Linked DNA regions of Homo sapiens: region 1 is linked to region 2. The links are contacts of gene promoters, found by promoter capture Hi-C in blood cells and fetal thymus (Javierre and others, 2016). All regions are on one chromosome and are shown on one strand. The core of a region is centred on a gene start or on the middle of the fragment in contact, and the rest is flanking DNA. Distances in the headings are between cores, read along the strand shown.

What was found. The method cuts DNA at HindIII sites, captures the fragments that hold promoters and counts their contacts. A CHiCAGO score of 5 or more calls a contact.
Region 1: a contact is called between a fragment that was not itself captured here and the fragment with the promoter of TAS2R5 in region 2, in 1 of 17 cell types (monocytes). The highest score is 5.3, in monocytes.

The regions. Positions count from the first base shown.
Region 1 is chr7:142,008,784-142,013,090 of GRCh38, reverse strand. All of the region lies in intron 3 of MGAM (maltase-glucoamylase), which reads right to left. Among named protein-coding and RNA genes, the nearest start is that of MGAM, 15 kb to the right of the region's middle. The HindIII fragment of the contact is 801 bases long and covers 1,884-2,684 here.
Region 2 is chr7:141,787,866-141,792,354 of GRCh38, reverse strand. TAS2R5 (taste 2 receptor member 5) reads right to left here and starts at 2,138. Exons shown (of 1, transcript NM_018980.3): 1 at 988-2,138. The coding sequence starts at 1,993. The coding sequence ends at 1,094. It also overlaps the pseudogene TAS2R6P. The HindIII fragment of the contact is 7,447 bases long and covers 1,796-4,489 here.

The DNA.
Region 1 (4,307 bases), core at 1,035-3,534, 220 kb before region 2:
AGTTCTCTTAACACACTTTGTGTCAAGAGGTGGAGTCTGTCGCTGTTCCTGTTGAAGCTGGGCCGCCCTGAGACTGATCTGATCAACAAAATGCATCAAAAGTGATACTATGCTGGTTTAGGTGTGGTATTTAAGAGAACTGGAAGCTTTTGCCTCTGTCTCTTGCAGCACTGAGCCACCATGTAAGAAGTTCAGCTACCCTGCTGGAGAGAGTACCAAGAGAGACTCCGTGACTACATGGAGGGGAAGAGGGTGCAGTCAGTCTTACCACCATTTTCACCAAGGTACCAGGTATGTGAGTAAAGTCATCTTGAAACCTCCAGACAAGATCAGCCACCAACTAAATACCACCATATCATGTAATCCCAGTAAATGCTATGTGGAACAGAACCATTCAGCCAAACCCTGGCAGAATCTCTGACTTACAAAATCACTACATATAATAAAACAATTGTTGCTGCAAACCACTAAGTTTGGATAGTTTGTAATTCAGTAGACAAATGGAGAAGCTTGCCCTAAGAAAACAGAAGTCTAAGAAAATAGAAGACTTAGAGCAATTTCAGTTAGACTGGTGCTTTGGCTGGAATGTGCCCCCTCCAAAATTCACGTGTTGCCAGTATGTTAGTATTAACAGTGGGGCCTTTAAGAGGTGATTAGGCCATGAAGCCTCCTCCCAGACAAAGGGAATTAGGTGCCCTTATAAAGGAGACAGTGGGCTGTCTCTTGCTGTCTACGTGCTGCCATGTGAGGATGCAGCAAGAAGGTCCTCACAAGATGCCAGCACCTTGGTCTTGTTCTTTCTAGTCTCCATCCATAACTATGATAAGTAAATTTCTGTGTTTGATAAATTACTCAGTCTTGGGCATTATGTTATAGCAGCACAAAAGAACCTGATGTTGTGAACAAAAAAGGTGGAACCAGAAAGTCTCCACATGAAGAAAATGAGTAGAATGAGACAAAGTATCCCATCTTCAAATAGAGCAGGAATTTTAGAAGTTGAAAGCACTTGATGATAAAGGAATTTCAAATCACCCTCTATTCATCAAAATGTTCTCTAGCTGTTTTTATGTGCAGCAAGTTTGAACTAACGAATGAATAAAATTAGTCTCGACTCTGTGAAATATCTTAAATGTAGGCTATTTTATAATATGTGCATCTTGAGTCAGGTTTTGAAATTTAGCTTGTTAGGCTGGCCACTTCATTTAACCTCAAAGTGAAGTCTAACAGCAAAGACTTTTTAAAACAAAGTTGCCACCTCTGCCATTCCCATAATCCAGTCTTTCTAGTCCCCCAAATCAGACTGTGGTGAATATTCAGAGAAACATTTGCCAGAACCTTAGAGATCACTATTCTAAAATATTTTGAGGTTAGTATAGTGTTCAATAGTCATTTAATCGAACGTTTAATGAGTATGTTTAGCTGAACACATACTGTCTCATTTTACTTAGAAGGATTTCACAGTTTATAAGAAAATGTGACTTACTGATCAAGTCAAAGAGCTTTCCAGAAGCAAAGCCAGGACTGAGTAACTCAATAACCTGGCTCCCCTTACATCCTTTCACTTGACCAATGGCTACATTATCATTTCAAGGTGCCAAACATAAACTTAAGTCTTTTAAGACTTTAAGTTTTTATCTGGGCTCACTGCTCTTCCTAGCACCATATAATGGCTATTAACTGATGTTGTGTAAACACAGAGTAATTTAAAGGTGAAGACTCACAATGATCTTGGCAAAATGCAATACCCTTGCTGCTATATCATAAAACATGATCCCCAACATATTGATAATAAACTGGAATTTGGAAAAGGATATCATAAGCCAAATAAATGAGTAATACATAGACAATTACCAAGTGTGTTCGCTGTAAAAGATGACAAAGCTTCTGTTTAAGAAATATGGTAACCTCTCAAATTATTGAGATTACCACTTATGTTATTGTTATCCTTGGAAATCAACTGTGAATTTCTCTCAGCTTAATTACTCTGCAACATTTACTTAGGGCATGCGGGTTTATCTTTAAGCACGTAACCTGCCCTCCCATGTTTACACAGTGCTTTATAGCCCTGAAAAATCAAAGGATTTAAAAGTATTAACTATCATTTCTTTCCTAAGCTGGATATCTGGAATTTGATGAAATATTCCTGCTCCCTGCCATCAATGGGATCTTTCAACTCTGCGTTCTGGAATTGGGGATAAAAGACTTCATCAAGAAAGTGGAAAGGATTTTAGAATTCAAAGGTTTGGAATAAGTGTAGACAGTTGTCTTTAAAATCTGCATAGAAGTATAGCCTAAGTGAACCTATAGAGGCACAGAGGTAGGGTCTTAGATGATAGAAGACAGTGTTTGAACTTGGCTCAACGTACAGTAATAAACCACTATATGTACTGAAGTTGGGTAGAAATAATAACAAAAGTTGGATGTAAAAAAGAGAAATTCTAATCCCACATGTAACGGAATGGATAGGAGAAATGGAATTCAGAAGGGATGCCAAGGGGCACCTGGAGCAACCCAAGCATGAGGAAATGATGATCTAGGGATGGCTGCAAGAATGGAAATGAAATGCCTCTTCTGGAAATTATTGTTAAGGAAAATATTTTAAAATACATGGAATACTGGCCAAAGGGATAGAAGGGATGAGCCAAGCAGAAGTTCTGCTGTTTCTGTCTCAAGAACTAGAAGCTTAATAGAACTACTAGCAGAAATCTGGTAGCTGAGAAGGAAAAGCAGATTTGGTGAGGAGGTAACGAGTTCAGCTGATATGATAGGAAGGAATTCAGTGAAGATGCCCTCCAACCAGCTTCAAGCCCAGAACTAAAGATCCGAACTAGAGTTAGATAATCGAGTGATCTTTTTTTCTAAGATCCATGAAGGGGACTCCTAGAGTCCATTCTCTCCAAAGAAGAGTCTCCCAAGAGTACTCAGGGTGTCAGGGTGGCTTGATACAGTACTTCCTCCTGTACTGGAAAAGGATTCCCTCTCATAACTGGGAGAATCAAACAATGGTATTTACAACCAAGAATCATCTGCAGAGAAAGTTATTCTTTTAGTTCTTTTACATATAATCTTGGAGGACAGATGATAAGAATGATAAAATTATATAGCAATGGTTTCGACACCAGAACATTCTGCCTAGCCTATCTGTTGTGTTCATAACTTCTTCCCACCATCCTCTTTCAGCTACATTCCCTTTAATGTGAACACCATACAAACACATCATTATCCATAGCCTCAGCTCTCAACAACAATCTGGATCAGCATACCGCTCTCAGGATTCAGAAAACATACAACAAAAGTTCTAAGATGTATCTTCTACAAGAAAATGAATCATTGAAAGTGCCAGTATTTCTCTCTGGCTGAGCAAAAAAGGAGAATGCCAATTAATAAACGCCAAGGCCGTGGAGTAATTCAGTTAGATATGACATGTAGAAAAGCCAAAGTTCATTTATTGAACTTCAATCTTGATACCACAGTATTTATCAAAAGATCTTACAATAAAGCACCAAAGAAACATTACTATGGCTGTATCTGAAGTGCACCAATACCCAGTGACAAGATGGAGTGTTGCAGTAGTGTGACATACTGAGAATGTGATAATCTAGGTGAGCTTCCAAGTAATGAGTGAGCTATTGAGTACAGCTTGAGTGAGCTATTGAGTACAGCTCAATTGAGCTATTGAGTAACTTGCACAATATGACAGGGAAAGTAAATGCATGTGCATCAACTTTCTGTAAATTTGGCACATCAAACATAGGGTGTGGGCAAGTACTTTATAATCATCATAATCAGGTGGACTTCAGCCGATAATCTAGAAACACTGGGCTAAGGTAAATGCCCAGATGTCTGCACTGTCTTTAATCTGGTATTCATTACCTTCTTCCTTCCAAAACAGAGCTCTTGAAACTTTGCCCTTATTTTAAATAATGTTTTGTGAATTTTTACTGCAGATTCTAGATGAGCTTTGGAAATTCTGAAAGGAGGAGAGACATACAGGGCATGAACAGAGTCAGAAAGAACTAGTAATCATGTAGTGTTGCCATATAAAAGACAAATACGTTTTTAGTAAGTAAGCCCAAAATCTTTCACGGGACACACTTATACTAAAAGCTTATTCATTGTTTTTCTGAAATTTGAATTTGGCTGGGCAACCGCACTTTTATTTGCTGAATCTGGCAACCCAAGGGAATTTTCCAGGTCTTCCTTTCCTGAAGCTGCACTGTCATACAAGCATGGACACAGGTTAATTTGCCTGAGCCACTAATGGCTGCAACATAAACACCTCTCTTGAGAGTCACTAATAAAGAAAA
Region 2 (4,489 bases), core at 889-3,388:
TCATGGCATCCAACTGACTTTTATTCTGCTTTTTTTTTTTTTTTTGAGACGGCATCTCGCTCTGTTGCCCAGGCTGGAGTGCAGTGGCATGGTCTCGGCTCACTGCCATCTCCACCTCCTGGGTTCATGCCATTCTCCCGCCTCAGCCTCCCGAGTAGCTGGGACTACAGGTGCCCGCCAACACACCAGGCTAATTTTTTGTATTTTTAGTAGAGATGGGGTTTAATCATGTTAGCCAGGATGGTCTTGATCTCTTTTTTTTTTTTTTTTTGAGACGGAGTCCCGCTCTGTCGCCCAGGCCGGACTGCGGACTGCAGTGGCGCAATCTCGGCTCACTGCAAGCTCCGCTTCCCGGGTTCACGCCATTCTCCTGCCTCAGCCTCCCGAGTAGCTGGGACTACAGGCGCCCGCCACCGCGCCCGGCTAATTTGGTCTTGATCTCTTGACCTCGTGATCCGCCCGCCTCAGCCTCCCAAAGCGCTGGGATTACAGGCGTGAGCCTGATTTTTATTCTGAAAGCCAAGGCTAGGGCTCAAAGAAACTTCCAGAAATATAAAGATGTTTTGTTTTGTTTTTCAGTTAGATAATTAGATACATTACAGCAGAGAAATGGGGAAATTATTTGATACTTTTTAAAAAGCATATCTAAAATGACTAACATTAATGTATAGGTAAAATTTCATAAAAATTAATGATCACTATAATTGTTCCTAATCTCTGTTTTCTATACTAGGAAAAACACAATTTATATATGAATTTTTGCTATATGTAGACAGAATTGTTCCTAATCTCTGCTTTTTATAATAGGAAAAACACGATTTATATATGAATTATTTGCTATATGTAGAGAGAATATAATACCTCTTTTACCAAACATGAAGCCCTAGCCTTGATTTCTGTGGTACATTAAAAAAATATACTTTGCATTGCCAAAAGAGACATAGTATTGGGTTTTGATCCGTATTTTCTGTTGCTCATTCATTACATTGGTGTAAAAGAAGGAAAATCTTAAAAGACATGGAAAGCAGCTCCCTTATAGAGAGCTATCAAAAGAGCGTCCCAAGAGTGTCCTGACCACACTTTTCTTCCCAGATCATGGGCCCCAGCATCTCCGAGCACACACTGTCTTCCACAGGATCTTCTGACAAGTCTGCTTCACCCTAGGAATCCCCATGATCAATATGAGAGAATGAAGAGAAGGATAGGCTGCCATGAGTGTCTCCCAGATGAAGACACTGGTGAGATCAGGAGGATAAGTCTTGGAGGTGATGGAGAAGGGGCTGGCCATGATATAAACCAGGTGAAGTAAGAGGAAGCAGCCCAAGGACTTCAGCGCAGTGATGTGAGCCTTGGCCCGGACATCCCTCCTACCAGCTGAATGGACCTTCATCTTCTTGTGGTGTGTATACAAAGAGACAATCAGCATCCCAGAGGAAACAAGAAACACCACTAAAGGCAAATAACTTCCTGAATTGAGCTGAAATGCATACAGGTACTGCCAGCTTTCAAAGGGATACCGAATGCTGCTGTTTCCTTGGGGAGGATGATAGAATGTTAAGCCAATTTGGACTGTAAGTAACAAATTGATTATAAAGTAGCCCAGAAGGCACCAGAGACTCAGGTTATAGGCCCTCTGCTTCAGCCACAAGTAGGCCGGGCGATCGAAGGTCGTGATCTTCTTGCAATAGAAGACACTGAGGAAGGTGGCAAACCATAAGCTGGCCTGGCTTACCAGGACCCAGAAGATACTAAGATAGCGAAGCCAACGGCTGCTCTGGAAAAGTGGAAACAAGCTTAAGTCCAAAATGATCAGCCACTGCAGGAGAAATCGGCAGCCAGCCAGGCCCAGGATAATGAGGTTATATGAGGACCAGTTGAATTTTCTGATCCATTCTCTAAAACTCCAGACCACCAGGCTTCCATTTCCAATTAAACCGATGAGAAATTCAACCACTGCCACCAGCATCAGCAGTCCTAGGCCAGCGCTCAGCATGGCTGGGGAGAGGAGGCTCTCACTGCTCCTGGCTGAGGTCAGATCCCCTGGTAGTGATAACACACCAGGGTAAATTTTCACACCACAAAATCTGGATTTGGCCTCGTCCTTCCGTAATCTGTCTTCAAGCGAGACTGAACAGCTGTGATGAGGAACAGAGAGGTTGGAAGTTATGATACCATCTGTATTTGCATCTACATGAATGAACCCTGAGTGTAGAACCAGAGATTGCAAACAGTACCACAGACACCGGCTCTCCATCTCAAAGGTTTTGGGCCAAAGTCTAGACACCAGGGTATAACGTAACAAGGCCCCTCAACAAGAAAGACCAAATCAAAACATGCTCAGGTGCTATACAGTGCCAGTTATGAGCTCATATGCTATATAAAAAAAGAAATTTTATTTTCATGAAAAGAACACTGGGCCAGGCATGGTGGCTCACACCTGTAATCCCAACACTTTGAGAGGCCAAGGCGGGTGGATCACCTGAAGCCAGGAGTTCGAGACCACCCTGGCCAACATGGTGAAGCCCCATCTCTACTAAAAATACAAAAATTATCTGGGCGTGGTGGTGGCTGCCTGTAGTCCCAGCTACTCGGGAGGCTGAGGCAGGAGAACCACTTGAACCCAGGAGATGGAAGCTGCAGTGGGCCAAGATCGCGCCACTGCACTCCAGCCTGGGCGACAGAGCAAGACTCCATCTCAAAAAAAAAAAGTAAGCATGCTGAGAACTCTCTACGAAGCTGTAGGCAGGCAGGCCACTGCCCGTCTCTGGGCCTCAGTTGCTCTATTAATAACTGAATGGATTGTAGGATGAGATTTCCATTCCTTCGGACTAAATTTACAAAGTGCTTATTTTGTGTCAAACTACGGTGTACTAGGCACAGGGGACGGCGCCATTATAATACACAGTCCCTGCCTCCAGGTAGCATCCATTGTACATCATCTCCACCAAGCTGCAAGGCCTGGTACTCTAAAACTCTGGCTGTAGGCTATGGAGGGGCAGAGGTGGTCGCGATCTTCTACTGGACTAAAAATCTAGATGAGGCTTGAACTCGTCCAAAAACAGTGTTTCTTCAGTGACTTTCTGATAGAGACATAGTGCCTCTCTCTCCCCACCTGCCCCAATCTAGCCTGGCAGTGGAATTTGCCACCGATCCTGGTAGCCAACTGACACGTTTCCAGAAAGCTAGTCTGGCATCAAAAAAACCAAAGTATCCAGAAATATAAAGGTAGGTTTTTGACTACTTTACTACCGGTGTTGAGAGGCTAAACTACATAGAAAATTGAGATAATAATTTAGCTAATTCCCCTAAGAAAAGTGCTTGCCTAAAAAATATACAGGCTCACCTCTTTTTAAAATATATTATTTTCAAACTATAGCTATTTTCTACTTCCTTTTATCAAAAACATAGCATATTGGCAAAGAAAACTTGATTATCTGCAGTAATTTTTAAAAATGTGATACTTCCCATGCAAAATATGAAAACTCGGTTTTGACTTCTGTAGTTTATTAAAATGATGTGATTTGCATTGCTTAGAGAGCAATAAGCTCCAGTTTCTAGCCTGTTTTTCATGTTACCCTTTCATTTTGTTTCAAAATCAAAGAAGAAATGAGGAGAATTGAGAATAAAAATTTCATTTTTCTAAAATCTACAGTTATTTTTACTGTTGTCAGTGATACAGTTAAGGGCCTGATTAGATCCTTCTTCCAAGTCATGGCCTCTAGGATTTCCATGTACATATCATCTCCTACAGAATTCTCTGACAAGTCTGATTCCTCATAACCATTACAATAGACGGAAATGAAGTATAAACAGCCATGAGTGTTGCAGAGATGGCAAGAATGGTGAGATCAGAGGGAGATTAGAAGGTCATGGAAAAGTGTCTGGCCAAGGCAGAAACCATGTAAAGGGGGAAGTTCAGAGCGATGAGCACCTTGGTTTGAGCCTCCTCCTGACAGCTGTGTGGTCCTCCATCTTCCTGTGATGTCTTTACAAAAAGACAAGTGGAACAGAAACATCACAAATAGCAATCAGTCTCCTTCACTGGACAGCAATCTATAAAAATAACAGATTTAAAATGGGATGCAGGATGTTGCTGTTTCCTGTTAAGGGTTTTTAAAGGGTCCAGCCAACAAGAGCTGAGAAATAAAAAGTGATCTTGAAAGACACTAGCAAAAAACAAAAACCCAGTCTTTTCAGCTACAAGAAGTCAGCGGGACAAAGGTCATGATCTCCATGCAGCAGAAGCCACTGAAGAAAGTGGCAAACTACATGTTGGCCTGGCTTACCAGGACTCGAAGACATTAAGATAGTAAAGCCAACCACTGCTCTGGGAAAGTGGAAACAGACTTATGTCCAACATGATCGGCCTGAGTAGGAGAAAGTGGCTACTTACCAGAATCATGAGAATTTATAGGGACTCCTTACATTTTTTTGACCCATCCTCTAAAACTGCAGACCACAGGGACTCCATTTCCAACCAGGCCAATGA